Regions from separate parts of the Homo sapiens genome. Here all the other regions are linked to region 1. Evidence: promoter capture Hi-C in human tissues and cell types (Jung and others, 2019). All regions are on one chromosome and are shown on one strand. Each heading gives the region's core, a stretch centred on a gene start or on the middle of the fragment in contact. The rest is flanking DNA. Distances are from core to core; before and after follow the strand shown.

Evidence for each region. The method cuts DNA at HindIII sites, captures the fragments that hold promoters and counts their contacts. A contact is called where the count stands out against the background at its distance.
Region 2: a fragment that was not itself captured here is called in contact with the fragment with the promoter of SEH1L in region 1 in 2 of the 25 tissues and cell types used here (dorsolateral prefrontal cortex and hippocampus).
Region 3: a fragment that was not itself captured here is called in contact with the fragment with the promoter of SEH1L in region 1 in 2 of the 25 tissues and cell types used here (aorta and dorsolateral prefrontal cortex).
Region 4: a fragment that was not itself captured here is called in contact with the fragment with the promoter of SEH1L in region 1 in 1 of the 25 tissues and cell types used here (spleen).

What each region holds. Positions count from the first base shown.
Region 1 is chr18:12,946,201-12,949,711 of GRCh38, reverse strand. SEH1L (SEH1 like nucleoporin) reads right to left here and starts at 1,701. Exons shown (of 9, transcript NM_001013437.2): 1 at 1,480-1,701. The coding sequence starts at 1,590. RefSeq lists an enhancer at 521-1,122 and silencers at 1,054-1,153, 1,164-1,513, 1,554-2,003. The HindIII fragment of the contact is 16,054 bases long and covers 1-3,218 here.
Region 2 is chr18:12,530,512-12,533,968 of GRCh38, reverse strand. All of the region lies in intron 4 of SPIRE1 (spire type actin nucleation factor 1), which reads left to right. LOC124904371 (small nucleolar RNA U13) reads left to right here and starts at 444; the gene lies at 444-545. The HindIII fragment of the contact is 3,667 bases long and covers 1-3,457 here.
Region 3 is chr18:13,229,612-13,232,983 of GRCh38, reverse strand. All of the region lies in intron 1 of LDLRAD4 (low density lipoprotein receptor class A domain containing 4), which reads right to left. Among named protein-coding and RNA genes, the nearest start is that of C18orf15, 8.2 kb to the left of the region's middle. The HindIII fragment of the contact is 7,303 bases long and covers 1-3,372 here.
Region 4 is chr18:13,394,181-13,397,701 of GRCh38, reverse strand. The region is part of intron 3 of LDLRAD4 (low density lipoprotein receptor class A domain containing 4); the gene reads right to left. Among named protein-coding and RNA genes, the nearest start is that of LDLRAD4-AS1, 32 kb to the left of the region's middle. The HindIII fragment of the contact is 8,832 bases long and covers 1-3,521 here.

The DNA.
Region 1 (3,511 bases), core at 452-2,951:
GGAGGCCGAGGTGGGCGGATCACGAGGTCAGGAGATAGAGACCATCCTGGCTAACATGGTGAAACCCTGTCTCTACTAAAAAATACAAAAAATTAGCCGGGCGTGGTGGCGGGCGCCTGTAGTCCCAGCTACTTGGGAGGCTGAGGCAGGAGAATGGCGTGAACCCGGGAGGCGGAGCTTGCAGTGAGCCAAGATTGCGCCACCCCACTCCAGCCTGGGTGACAGAGCAAGACTCCGTCTCAAAAAAAAAAAAAAAAAAAAAAAAAAAACGGTTAACGTAGTTTATTACAACAAAAATAAACTTGTTTTAAAAAAGAAACTACATCTTTTAAAAATTGCAACACTATTTATAAAAAGTTTATCTTTGAGAGATCACTGGTATCAAACTCGAATGTGAAAAAGGATAAACTATCCTTCAGATTTCCAGTTACTCTGGAGTTGTCGAGAACCAAATAATCCGCACTCCAGCTTTCATTCATCCTGCAACACATCTGGGAGGTTCCTAAATCTCATGTAGCATCCCCACATTAGAAATTCTGCTTGTAGGCCGGGCGCGGTGGCTCACGCCTGTAATCCCAGCACTTTGGGAGGCCGAGGCGCCGAGGCGGGTGGATCACGAGGTCAGGAGTTCGAGACCAGCCTGGCCCACATGGTGAAACTCTGTCTCTACTAAAAAATACAAAAAAAAAAAAAGATTAGCCGGGGGTGGTGGCGTGCACCTGTAATCCCTGCTACTTGGGAGGCTGGGGCAGGATAATCGCCTGAAAGCGGGAGGCGGACGTTGCAGTGAGCCGAGATCGTGCCATTGCACTCCAGCCTGGGTGACAGAGTGAGACTCGGTCTCAAAAAAAAAAAAAAAAAAAGAAAAGAAATTCTGCTTGTCGGAAGTGTCTACAGACGTTTACGGGAACTTCAAGAAACAAACCCTCCGATTCCTGGGCAGCAAGCAGGGAAATCATTGGATGTAAATGGTTTGTATTTTTCTTCCTCGGCGTAACAAAGTGAGCTTCTGCTCTGAACCCACGGAGAAAACCATGTGCCCTGGTGAGAGAACACCGGCGGGGCACAGAACTCGACGCAGCGCCAGCCAGGCAAAGTCTCCCACCAGGTCCCACTGCAGGTCGTCGGGTGAACAGCGCGGGCAAGACCCACGACGCCGAGGCTGACGGTGGGATGCCCCTGGGTTCCCGCCCGCAGCCCCGGCAGCGCGGCCTGGGAGAGGGCCCGGCGTACCCTGCGGGCGGGAGCGCGCACGTGGCACCAGCTGCGCAGGCGCACGGGAGGGCGGCCCGCGAGGCCGCCGTGACCCCACAATACGCGGGCGGGGAGGGCTTCCGCTCAGTCCAGCCAGGGCTCGCCCGCCACCCCACAGCTTCCAGCGGCGTCACTGAACCAAGACACAGCCCCGTTCCCCGCGCCGCCCACCCACTCCCCTTCCTTCCTTCCGGGGTCGGCCCCGCCCGCAAGCGCCGCGCGCACCTTAACGCTCTGATCGCTGGAGCAGGTTGCCATCCGCCGCCCGTGGAAGTCGAAAGAGACATCGTGGATGAGATCCTTGTGGTCCGCCGCGATGCTGCGAGCCACAAACATGGTTTCCGTCGGGCCCGCGCCTCCGAAGAGGACAGTGGCGGCGGCAGCGGCGGCGGCGCGTGGCCCGTAGCCTAGCCAGACCTCGCAGCCCGGGAGCGCACGGCTTGTGCTGCCCACGCCCCCGCACCGCCCCTGCCTATCAAGCCCCGCCCACACACCCTCCGGTCCTTCAAGCCCCGCCCCACCCACCGGCCCGTCAGGCCCCACACAGTCCCCTGGCCCCTCAAGCCCTGCCCACGCCCCGGCCCGTCATGACTCGCCCCACCTTCCGGTCCCTCAAGCCCCGCCCCGCCCCCAGGCCCGTCAAGCCCCGCCTACCCTCCCACCAGAGCCGTCATGCCTCGCCCCACCCTCCCGCCCCCTCAAGCCCCGCCCTGTTCCCGGCTCGTCAATCCTCGTCCCGCCCCCGGCCCGTCATGCCCTACGATCCTGGTGCGGGTTCCTCCAGGCTCTGACCGTTCGGCGGCGGAGGGTGCTCTGCAAAAGGCGAGTTACCTGTGCTGAGAAGTAGTAAGAGCTTATTGGTATACTGTGCAAATGAAGAAAGATGAAAAAGTGAAGACTGCCTCTCACGGTCCTCGGCCCTGAATCATTTAAGTCGACGTTTGGATGTGTTTCCCCCCAGACACATGCGAGGCGCGCGGAGCAGGTGGAGAAGACGAACCGTGGGTTTGGTCAGGAGCCGCGCTCCGTCGGGACGGCTGAAGAGCAGGGAGGGCCGGGGAGACGCCTGAGGGGATGACAAGCAGTCCAGGCTCGGCAGCCTAAGAGCGAAGGCTGGACGGGGAGGAAAGGATCAGAAGTAGTAGTTTAAATGTGTCAAGATTTTACAGGTAGAACAGGCCTGGGGGTGCTAGGAGCCACCACGGGGGTAGGGAAATAGTATGAATTAGAAGAGTCCGCCTGTAGAAACGTGTCATCCCGGGGGAAGGAAGCGGCCGGGGAAGTGGGCTGCTTGCTACCCGGGAGCCAGAGTCCTCCGGGGAAAAGGAAGTGAAGAGGGCCAGAGCCCCTGGGAAGAGGCCTGGCTCAGATCAAGGATTCTGCCAAAACCGGAAAGTGGAGGAGCCAACGACTCGGGGGGTTTTGCTTATCAGGAAAAGGCATTCTAGAGGGCGTAGTGGTAAAGTTAGGATGGGAGACAGTGGAAGCTTGCGTCAGGGGAGCGAAAGTACAGAAAAAAAAAAAATGAGGCTGCAGAAGGGACTTGCCCTTTGGATTTTGGCCAGGAATGACAAAAATGTGAGGTATGGTAAAATTAGCAGGCTGGAAAGTTTTTTAAATGATTAGTCCCAGCTGTCCCCTGATGGATTGCACAGAAACCTGCAAAGAGAAGTGGCGCAATGACCTGACCTTTTTCAACCATAAATAAGATTTTATTGCTACTTTAAGAGGTGGGCCCCACCTCTTATGATAACTGATAACAACTATAACTTTTTTGAAGGTCAAAGACACTCATTTCCAAAGAAAGTGCTCACTATAAAAGTCCAATCAAAATATATTGATTATTATAAAAATATCAAAACAGTTTAAAAATTGTTTTAATTAAATTTAAATACAGACAGTAAACAGATCATTGGTTGCCAGAGATTATCAGAGTGGGAGTGAAGTGTTGAATTAGGTGAAACAGTGGATTTTTTAAAATAGACTTTAGTTTTTAGAACACTTTCAGGTTCACAGCAAAATTGAGCAGAAAATAGAGTTCCCGTATGTACCCCTACTGTCACACATGCACAGCATCCTCCACTGTCAACATCCCATACCAAAGTGGTACCTTTGTTATGATCAGTGAACCTACATTGACACATCATTATCACCCAAAATTCAGAGTTTGCATTAGGGTTCACTCTTGGTGTTTTATTCTGTGGGTTTTGGCAAATATATAATGACATGGATCCACCATTATAGTATCACGCGGAAT
Region 2 (3,457 bases), core at 581-3,080, 420 kb after region 1:
GTGTGTGTGTGTGTGTGTGTGTGTGTGTGTGTGTGTAATGGATTAGCTGTTCTCATTGAGCAGAACCAGAGGAAGTGGGATCTGATTAAAAGCTTCAAAGTGAACATCCAAAGGCACATCCTCAACTAGGTTTTCTCGAATAGTAGAAAAGATTACTTTTTAAGGCTGTCGTTACCTTTCCCAGCTTGTTAAAACTGAGATTGCCTTCCCCAGAGCATTATTTTTAGGGTGTACATGTATGAACCTGGCTACTTTATAAAGCACAGTGCCTGGTTCATCATCTATTTATTTAGAAAGCAAATTTGTTAATAGAGGAAATTAAATGAGCTCTTAAAGTCCTTCCAACACTGGCATTCTTAGAAACTATTTCTGAGCTTAAATAGAACAATATTAGTATTTTTACTACTCTACTGCAGTGAGCATTTAAAAAATGTTTGCTCTTGATCCTTTTGCAGTTCCTAAGCGTGATGATTGGATATTCACACTTGTGTGCGAGATGTTCCTTTTTCTAAACCTTGTTATGTCAGCACATTACTCATCTGATGTAAAAAAAAATTTTTTGCTCTTGATTAAAATTTTGCTTTGCAAGATATGCAAACACACTTTCAAAAAGAGGCTCAAACATTATTAAAGTTTATTTAAAGAAAAAGCTGACAGGTGGAGTAAAACTGCTGTGTGGCAGTGCCTGCAGAAACTGGCCAGGCTGACCGAGGTTGGGCCCTCACAACTGGTTGAAGCTCCAGCCACATCTCTCACTCTGTCACCACCCCAAGACTAGGACTTTATAGGCATTAGTTCCATCCTGTTTTCATATCTCCTTCTCCTCTGTTTCTACTCCGTTGATCTCCATCTCACCCTTTCCCAGTCTTCTCTGGAAACTGCACTCCATTTTGAAAAGAGTCCCCTCAGGCTCTTCTGACAACACTTGTTCCCCTAAGGGTAGTGCTTTCTCTTGCTTTCCTCCTGCGGGAAGCCGATCTCTCCTCTACATCTCCCTGTTTCGATTGAGGTGGGTTTGCTAATATTCTGTCTCTCCTCTGCTGCCTGCCAGTAATCAGCCTTCATCCTTGTTGAAACACCCTTCTTCCTTTGAAGCTCCTGTCATCACTTCTCTCATCTTGAGTGACTTCCTAGACAAAGAAAGCACATAAATTGCCTATCAACACTCAGGTTTCAGGAATGTAAGTTTCTTTCACCTCTGCAATGTATAAGGTTTTCTTGAAATGATAGAACATTTTTATACATGTTAGTTTATGTATGTAAATGGTTTCAGCCTTTTCTCAAAAATACTGTTTTCACACTAATAAATACTATTTGTTAATTTGACTTTTTTCGGAAGATCCCAAAATACTTAATATATTTTAAGAATCATTCTTTATACCTATGAGTTAGTGTGTACCAAGTGGAATTTTTGAAACAATAGACTGATTCAACGAAATTAAAAATTGAGTATCAACAATTTTTCAAACTACCTTATATCTGTGTATATGTGTGTGCATGAATGCATATAAATTGGGGTGGAAGCATAGTGTCAGAACACTTGAGCTCAGTTACTGATAATGTGTCTGATTTGATAGTCCAAAAGTACTTTAATTATACTAAATTTCTTATATGGCAAATTGGCAATTTATTAAAATATAAAATCTACCATCTGTTTTCCAATGTTATACTTGTTCTGTAAAGTGTTAAGTGCATTTACTGAACCTGGCTACTTTATAAAGCACAGTATCTGGTTCATCATCTATTTATTTAGAAAGCAAATTTGTTTATATTCTAATCCCTTTCATGATGTGATGATTTTCTTCTTAAACAACCAATGAACTCCTTTAAGGTCATTCTTTTAATGATAAAGATTTGGGTAGGCCTGCTGTTACTTTGTCTCTTAAGCAATGTGATATCCTTGAAAATAAGTACACATTACTGTGTCTCCTAAGAAATTTGATATCCTTGTAAGTTAAGTATAGCTGGAGGCACTGTCTAAGCAATCCATCGAGTGCATCAGGTTGTATGAAAGAAGAGCCACCCTGCCCTGCTGCCAGTGACACCACCATATTCCAGAGCCATACTGCAGGGGTAGCTGGTGAGCCTGTGCTGTGCAGAGGGGGCAGTTTCAATTGTAAAATTTTTTATTGGAGAAAATGAAATTATATTAATGGTAGTATCCTTTAATCTATTGTGGTCCAGGTAATTTTTTGATCATCAGTCCCCAGTTTTGTTATTGTTAAATAAAATTATTTATCATTACCTAAAACTTTAACCCCTGCTACTTTACTGTCATATTCATACAGCTCCTTTATAAAATGCCTTCTCTTCCTTACTCCATTTGATCCTTGTAACAATCCTGTGACTCTTTGCAAATTAGTAAACTGAGGCTTAGAGAGATTAGAGATTCACATAGAAGTAAGTTCTCAGTGCTGCTGATAACAGCATTTTCATCCTCATCATACCCTTCAGTCCGGCAAAGGTGTTCCACTACATAGAAGTTATTGCTATTTTCCTCTAAGAGTGTCACATAAAATGCATTATTAGATGAAACTAAAGAGAGAGTTCTGAAGAAAATGGAGGTAGATACTTTGATGTAGGTTTCTGAGCAGTTCTGGAGAGAGAATATGTGAGTCAGAAAGACTAAGATTTGGCTTTGGAGAGAAGAGAGTTTATGAGAGAATGTGTGGGCATGCACATGCTGGTGTTAGGGGATGATGGTCCTGCATATGCACATAAATGGGATGGGGGGGTACCATGTAAAGTTGAGGTATGAAATAAGAGGGAGGCCAGGCACAGTGGCTCATGCCTGTAATCACAGCACTCTGGGAGCCCAAGGCAGGAGGATCACTTGAAGCCAGGAGTTCAAGACCAGCCTGGCCAACAAGGCAAGACCCTATCTATAAAATAAACAAATAAATAAAGAGGGAGATGTGAAATGAGAAAAGATAGAGTATCATAGAAGTGTCAAAGACTGAGATAAAATAATTTTAAGACTAGAAAGTCAGTTGATTTTTTTCTGATACGTTCCTAGCATGCTCTAGCCATCATTGCCTCCACGTTGAGAGTGTGCAGTATGCTCACCAAATTCTCCAGTAATACACTGTTTCATAGTAGGGGTATAATGATATTATAGTAGAAACTTGATGTATCATAAGAGTACACTGTTTTAAAAGAATTTTTTGAAAGCTTTCTTTAAAGCAAATAACTCATTTTTTATTTATTTCATAATTTGAAATATTTATATTACCACTGACCTTTGTAAAAGCCCCTTTATTGGTGAATCATACCATTCATTATTCATGTAACTTCTTAAAATCAAATAGCATTTGCAAGACTTCTGTTTACTCATCTTTAAAAATGGGGAGGAAGGCCTGGCGCTCAGTGGCTCACTTCTGTAATCCCAGCACTTTGAGAGGCCGAGACCAGGTGTTTTGAGACCAGCCTGAGAAGCATAGCAAGATCATAGAATCCT
Region 3 (3,372 bases), core at 484-2,983, 280 kb before region 1:
CAATGAGCTGAAGCCTTGGTCATGAGGACGCTGGCTCCTGTTCCCTTCAGGGAACCAGGAGGACCACACCAGGGAGAGCCAGCAGACGTGGCAGCCTTCTCTCCCTGCTGCCAGCTTCGGGTCCGGAGCTGAGTTCGGACGAGCATCACAGCTGGCACGCGCCTCTCCCACACGCAGCTTCCAGGGAGCATGGCTGGAGGTGGCGCTTCCTGGGCTGCGGAGGAGAGAGCAGGAAGCTGCGAAGCCAGTGTGAACGGCGCACACGGCTTCCACTTGGAACGCAAGCAGGGGATCAGGGGACTTGGCAGCCACAGCGGAAGAGTCAGAGCTGCAGACAACAGTGAATAGCTGAGCTGGGGAAGGGATGCGGCAGCACGAGGTGACATAGAGGCTTGTGGAGCACAGCACGGGGCAGCAGCAGCCCCCGGACAAGGCCACGCAGGGAAGGAAGGCGATTTACACGGAGGCTTGTGGAGCACAGCACGGGGCAGCAGCAGCCCCCGGACAAGGCCACGCGGGGAAGGAAGGTGATTTTGTTGAAAGGGGAGAAACAGAACTGAAGTCAACTTGCATCCACAGCCGAACAAACTGTACCAGGACAGAAGCTCAAACCATGCCAGGCAAAAAGGGGCACAGGCCACAGACAGAGGCGGGAGGCGAGTGGGACAGGAGAGGGGCCACACTGGCAGATCCACCTCACTGCTGGCACCAGGCCAAGTCTCTGCACTGCTCAGGACCTGGGACATACTCCTAAGTCCCACAAGAGCGCCCAGAAGACGCTCCTCTAACAGGGAGGAGATGAGAGCAGGCCCCTGCGGTGGCCCCAGCCTGCACCGTACTCGCGCCACACTCCATCCTGCATGGCCCACCAGGAGAGAGCTTCACGGGGTGCCCCCTCAGTCCCCTTGATGTAACTATGTGTATCTTCGAATTCAGTTTTTAGTGCTATACCCTTGACCTCCCAAAATGACATCGACTAGGTGGGTGCCTGCCCAGCCACCAAGCTGCCATCCCTGGGACCAATGACCTTCAGAAAACAGCCTGCCATGTGGTTTGGACAACCATTGGGCATCACATTCCAATTAGGTTTCACACATTAAAATAACATAAACTCTGGCCTGAATTCCTCATTCAGCTAATAGCCACATTAGAGAAGAAGAAACAAATCCATTAATTATACTTCTATGTACATTTCATTGATTATTTGTTCCTTAAAGCCAAGGAACATGAAATTAGATGTTGTCTGTGAAAAGCTTTAAATAGTTACACGTTTTGCAAATAGAAGGCATTATTATTCCCATGCGAAAGTGATAAACCTGGCTTCCTGTCGTGAACTGAATGCAGTATGAAATGTAAGCGTTTTGTGAAATGTAAACAAATATCAACTATTAAAGCACTGTGGTCGAGACAGAGCTCCCCACTGCAAACAATTCGATATGAAATCAAGGTAGGTGTTCTAATGGGCTTGTTTTTCTTTACCATTCGTGGCTGGTTGATTTGGTTTTCGACAAAGATGGGAGGAAACGCTCCACACCAGAACCAGACTCACGCGATCTCGGGCAGGCCGCAATCAGGAGGAATGGTGACCCAAAGGGCAAGGGCCACCCGACATGCTCACCAAGAGCAGCGCCCCGTGCCCAGGTTCACTCCCGCTCCCAAAAGCCTCTGGCCTGTCTGCGTGCACCCACCTTTCACACGAGCCATGTGTCCACTGCCATTTCTTCTCAAGCAAAACCGGTCCAGACCCCTCTTGCCCTTCTCCCTCCCGCTTCCTCCCATACCACCTGCCTTTTGCCTCACCCATAGACATCTATACGCCTCTGAACTCGAAGACGATGCTGCCCGTGGCGCGCATTCCATGCAGGCAGGGAAAGAACCTTCACTCATCCCTGCAGCCCCGCAGCACCCTGGACATCAGGAATGAGCTTCACCAGATTACAAGTCTCCATTCTTATAAATGCATGTGGGCCCTAAAAGGGTCCCCCTGCGCCGAGCATGAATAAATAATCTCACCCTCCTAAGGAAGATTTCTCCACACAAATAAAGCAGTCCTATCAACATTTCTGATCACCAAACTGGTGTATTCAATCCCTCCCCGACCTGTGTCAGGATTCGCCCTGGAGGGTTCAGATAGCATGGACCAGAAAGAGGAGCCTAGGAGAGTCAGGGCGGCAAAGGAGCAAGATATGGTCTGTGGATTTTGAGTTCACAACAACTGAAAGCTACAAAAGTAATTTAGAGTTTGAGTTTGAAATTTCAGGCACTGTAAGCAGTAGCATCTACCCATGACACTCGCAGACACCCTCCCACCTCTTCCCCCACCTGCAGCCATGCATGGCCCGCCCTGCCCTCCCCCTGTCTTAACATATGTTCCCACTGCCCGCCTGTGGGCCCCCAATTTTCTGAAGCATATACTCCTACAAGCAAAAATGTCTAAGCACACAGGTCATGTATATTTATTTATAAATTATAAATTATATACATATACTATGGTAATAGTACATTGTACACATAATATACAAAGTTTGAAAAATGGAGTAAAAATAAGTATATGCGTTCTAATATTTTCTCGCTGCAACCCACTAGATTACTCTTTCCCTGTTTGTTCACCTTAAAAAAAAATCTGTTCTTTTGCTAAGTCTCAGCCCGAGGTCTATGTCTCAGTCCAGCCGTGCTGCTGTAACGAAATACCTTCAATGGGGTCATTTAGAAACAGCAAAAATGTGTTGCTCCTAGTTCTGGTGGATGGGACGTCCAAGATCAAGGTGCCGGCAGATCTGGTGTGTGGTGAGGGCCCATTCTTCATAGATGGCACCTTCTGTGAGTCCTCGAGTGGTGGAAGGGGTGAACAAGCTCCTCCGGCCTCTGTTATAAAGGCACTAATCCCACACATGAGGGAGAAGCCTCGTGACCTAATCCCCTCCTAGAAGCCCCATCGCTCAATACTATCAATACTATCACAGTGGAGTTATGTTTCAATTGAGGAGTTTCTGGGACACACAAACATTCACACAACAGCATTTGGCCTCCTCCATGAAGTCTCCCTTGATTGACCAAAGTACATTGAGCCCTCAGGAAGCCAGGAGACAGCAGGTCTACTCACATCTTCCTCTGTCTCCCTGGTATGGTTGTTAGCCCTGTGTGGCAACCGTGGGCACACCTGTCTTCCACCAGTTTGGCGACAAAGCCATGTCTTTATCTATGCCTAGTGCGTGGACGTCCTGAGTGCTCCATAAAAATGCACACAGGAGGAAAGAGTAGAAGGAGAGGGAAGGGAGGGAGCGAAGGAAGCGTCAGAGCCACCACCTCTGGGCCTGGGGGCCTCACTCTCCTCCACATCTAAAGCCTTTCTTGAAAAACTGCTTAGTTCAA
Region 4 (3,521 bases), core at 393-2,892, 450 kb before region 1:
CATGGCTTTTTCAGTGAGTGCCAAGGACATGGGTCCTGCTGCTCTAGGGCTCTACAGACAAGATAACAAGAGACAGGTGGTAGGATTCAGAAACACTGATCTCAGGATGATTTTCCTAAGAAGTCAGACAAACCCAGCAGGGAACAGTGGCTCATGCCTGCAATCCCAGTGCTTTGGGAGGCCACAGCAGGAGGATAACTTGAGGTCAGGAATACAAGATCAGCCTGGAAAACATAGTAAGACCCTATTGCTGCAAAAGGGCATTAAAGTTTTTAAAAATTAAAAACAAAAGTCAGTTTGGGAGGCCGAGGTGGGTGGATCACGAGGTCAGGAGATAGAGACCATCCTGGCTAACAGGGTGAAACTCTGTCTCTACTAAAAATACAAAAAATTAGGCAGGTGTGGTGGCGGGTGCCTGTAGTCCCAGCTACTTGGGAGGCTGAGGCAAGAGAATGGCATGAACCAGGCAGGCGGAGCTTGCAGTGAGCTGAGATCTCACCACTGCTCTCCAGCCTGGGCGACAGAGCGACAGAGAGAGACTCCGTCTAAAAAAAAACAAAAACAAAAAAATAAAAGTCAGGCAAACCCAACAGCAGCTGTGGCTGGTCTCTCCCTCAGGGTTGGCGGACCCAGCAAGCCTAGGACAGAACCCTCGTGTGAAATGGGCACACCCCCATCTCCTTAGGGAGTCTGGAGGCCTGTTGTCTACTTGGCAACTGGAATATAGCTTCTTTAAAGGAATTCTTTAAAATACAATATGGCATCTAGAAACATTTATTAATGTATTTTCTTCTGTACAATCTCTACAGCTGTACCGTCAGCCCTCTGTATCCACAGTTTCTACATTTGCAGATTCAACTAACTGCAGACTGAAAATATTGAGGCAAAAATACAAATAACAATAAAACAATAAAAAATAGGCCAGGCGCAGTGGCTCACACCTGTAATCCTAGCACTTTGGGAGGCCAAGGCAGGAGGATCGCTTGAGCCCAGGAGTTTGAGACCAACCTAGGCAACATGGCAAAACTCCGTCTCTACAAAAAATAAACAATTAGCCAGATGTGGTGGCATGTGCCTGTAGTCCAAGCTACTCAAGAGGCCAAGACGGGAGGATCACTTGAGCCCAGGAGGTTGAGACTGCAGTGAGCTACGATGGCGCCACTGCATTCCAGCCTGGGTGACACAGCAAGACCCTGTCTAAAAAATAAAAAACAATACAAATTTTTAAAATATAGTATAACAACTATTTACACAACATTTATATTGTATGTGGTATCATAAGTAATCTAGAGATGATGTAAAGTCTATGAGTGGATGTCTGTGTGTTCTAAGTATATGCACCATCATTTTATATCAGGGACTTGAGCATCCACAAAGGACAGCAAGGCTGATTGTGCTAACAGAGCACAGAATTACACGCCCAGCTAGGGCACCACGTTATTATTTTGTATTCTTTTTTTGCCCCTAGGAAATCTTGAACCAGGAGATGTCTTTCTCACACCACCCTGGAGTATTCTACAAATGCCAACATAAATTGAGAGGAAAAAGAGTCCATACTCCCATACGGACTATTATTGGTTAAAAAATTTTAACGGAACCATAAACCACTACCCAGACGTTACACTTGTTTATTTTTGCATCCCATTTCTGGGTTCCCCCATTTAAACATAGTATCCTGAAAAAACACAGAGACCCGGGACTTGACTTCTAGCCAAGTTTGAAGACCCTTGGCCTGTGACGACTCCATGAGACTCTGGAAGAGAGGCGATTATCAGCCCAGCACAGGCAGGTGGCAGGGCTGAAGTTCAGCTAAAAGCCCTATCAAACCGGATATAAGGAACCAGAGGGGATGTCTTGTGCTGGAGATTGATTCCCACGAGCAGAGGGCCCCGGGAGCTAAGCTAAAATCCTCAACCTCTGCAGCCCATGCCCCCACCCCCACGCCAGCTCCCCACCCCACGCCAACTTCCGCCCCCACGCCAGCTCCCGCCCCCACGCCAGCTCCCCACCCAACGCCAACTCCCGCCCCCACGCCAGCTCCTGCCCCCACGCCAGCTCCCCACCCAACGCCAACTCCCGCCCCCACGCCAACTCCCGCCCCCACGCCAACTCCCGCCCCCACGCCAGCTCCCGCTCCCACGCCAGCTCCTGCCCCCACAACAACTCCCGCCCCCCAACAGCTCCAACCCCAACAGCTCCCACCCCCACAACAGCTCCCACCCTGCCAGCCCCCACCCCCACGCCAGCCCCCACCTCCACACCTGCATGTGATGTCATCAGAGCTATGGCAGCTAACTGTGCAGATCGTGATGACACTCAGACTGTACACTCCTGGGACAGAAGTATGGCATGACAACTATTAAATATTTATTAAATGAACCCCTGATTTTTATGAGGCCTTTCTGTATAGTCAACTTCAAGAAGACTATGAAAGAAGACGGGGAAGAACATTTATCGAGCACCACTATAAGCCAGACTGTGTTTTGGTACTTTACAAATGTTATTTCACTTAATCTTTATACAGAACCTACTCACTGGCCATTATCTCTACCTCAGTGTGGTAAAGAGTGCACTTCAGAGAGGTCAGCTGATCTATCAGTGTCACAGAGCAGGAACTGGGGCGTGACCGGGGCAGGCTGCTCCTCCTGGAAGCAATGCCTTCCCCAGCCTCTGAGCTCATCTGCCAACAGAGAGCACAGGAGAATCCAGTATTAAGGACTCCAGAGACATCCATACACTAACAGAGGAAGAGGCTAGGACCCAAGAAACTACAAGAGGCCACGTATGGAAGCAGTCACCTGCTTTCTGCACATGTTTGATTTCTCCAGAGCTAAGTGGCTCCATTTCAGGGATAACTACAACATCCAAGTTTCAGATGTACAATGAACAAAAGCCCCCATTTTCCAAAGAACCTAATGAGACATGCAAGTTGCTTTGATCCTGGATACTCAGTGGCAGAGGATTCATCTCAAACAATGCTCATACTTACTGACAGTAGAGCCAGCATTCAAACTGGTCTTGGCTGTGCTATCAGCCCTAACACCCAGCAATGAGCAGTCACCATCACGAAGTCTCCCTGCAGGATGCTCTGAGCATAAATAAAAAGAGCTGGAAAATGAAAGCTTTCAGCAAACAAACTCATCTGTCACATTAAATATTAATTGGAATGTTTCTGACTTTATAATTTTTATATTTAATTGCTTTGGATATTTTAGCTATTTAACAGCTATAAAAAGATATTTATAACTATCTTTATGTTGTACACACTCAAGTAACCTTAAAATAAATATAATTTCAGGCAATACTGAAATTATTTCTCATCCTTATTTAAAAGGGTAAGTACACATCTCGACATGAGACTACCACGATGCCTCTAAAAAAAAGATAATCACATTTGATTATCTTGAAACAGTATAGAATGGTTTACCAGGAAGAAAATGGAGAAGAGTTTGGTGCTTATGGGAATAACAACATAAATTATATGTTATTTACACACAGAAACGTTATTAATTAAGGTTAGG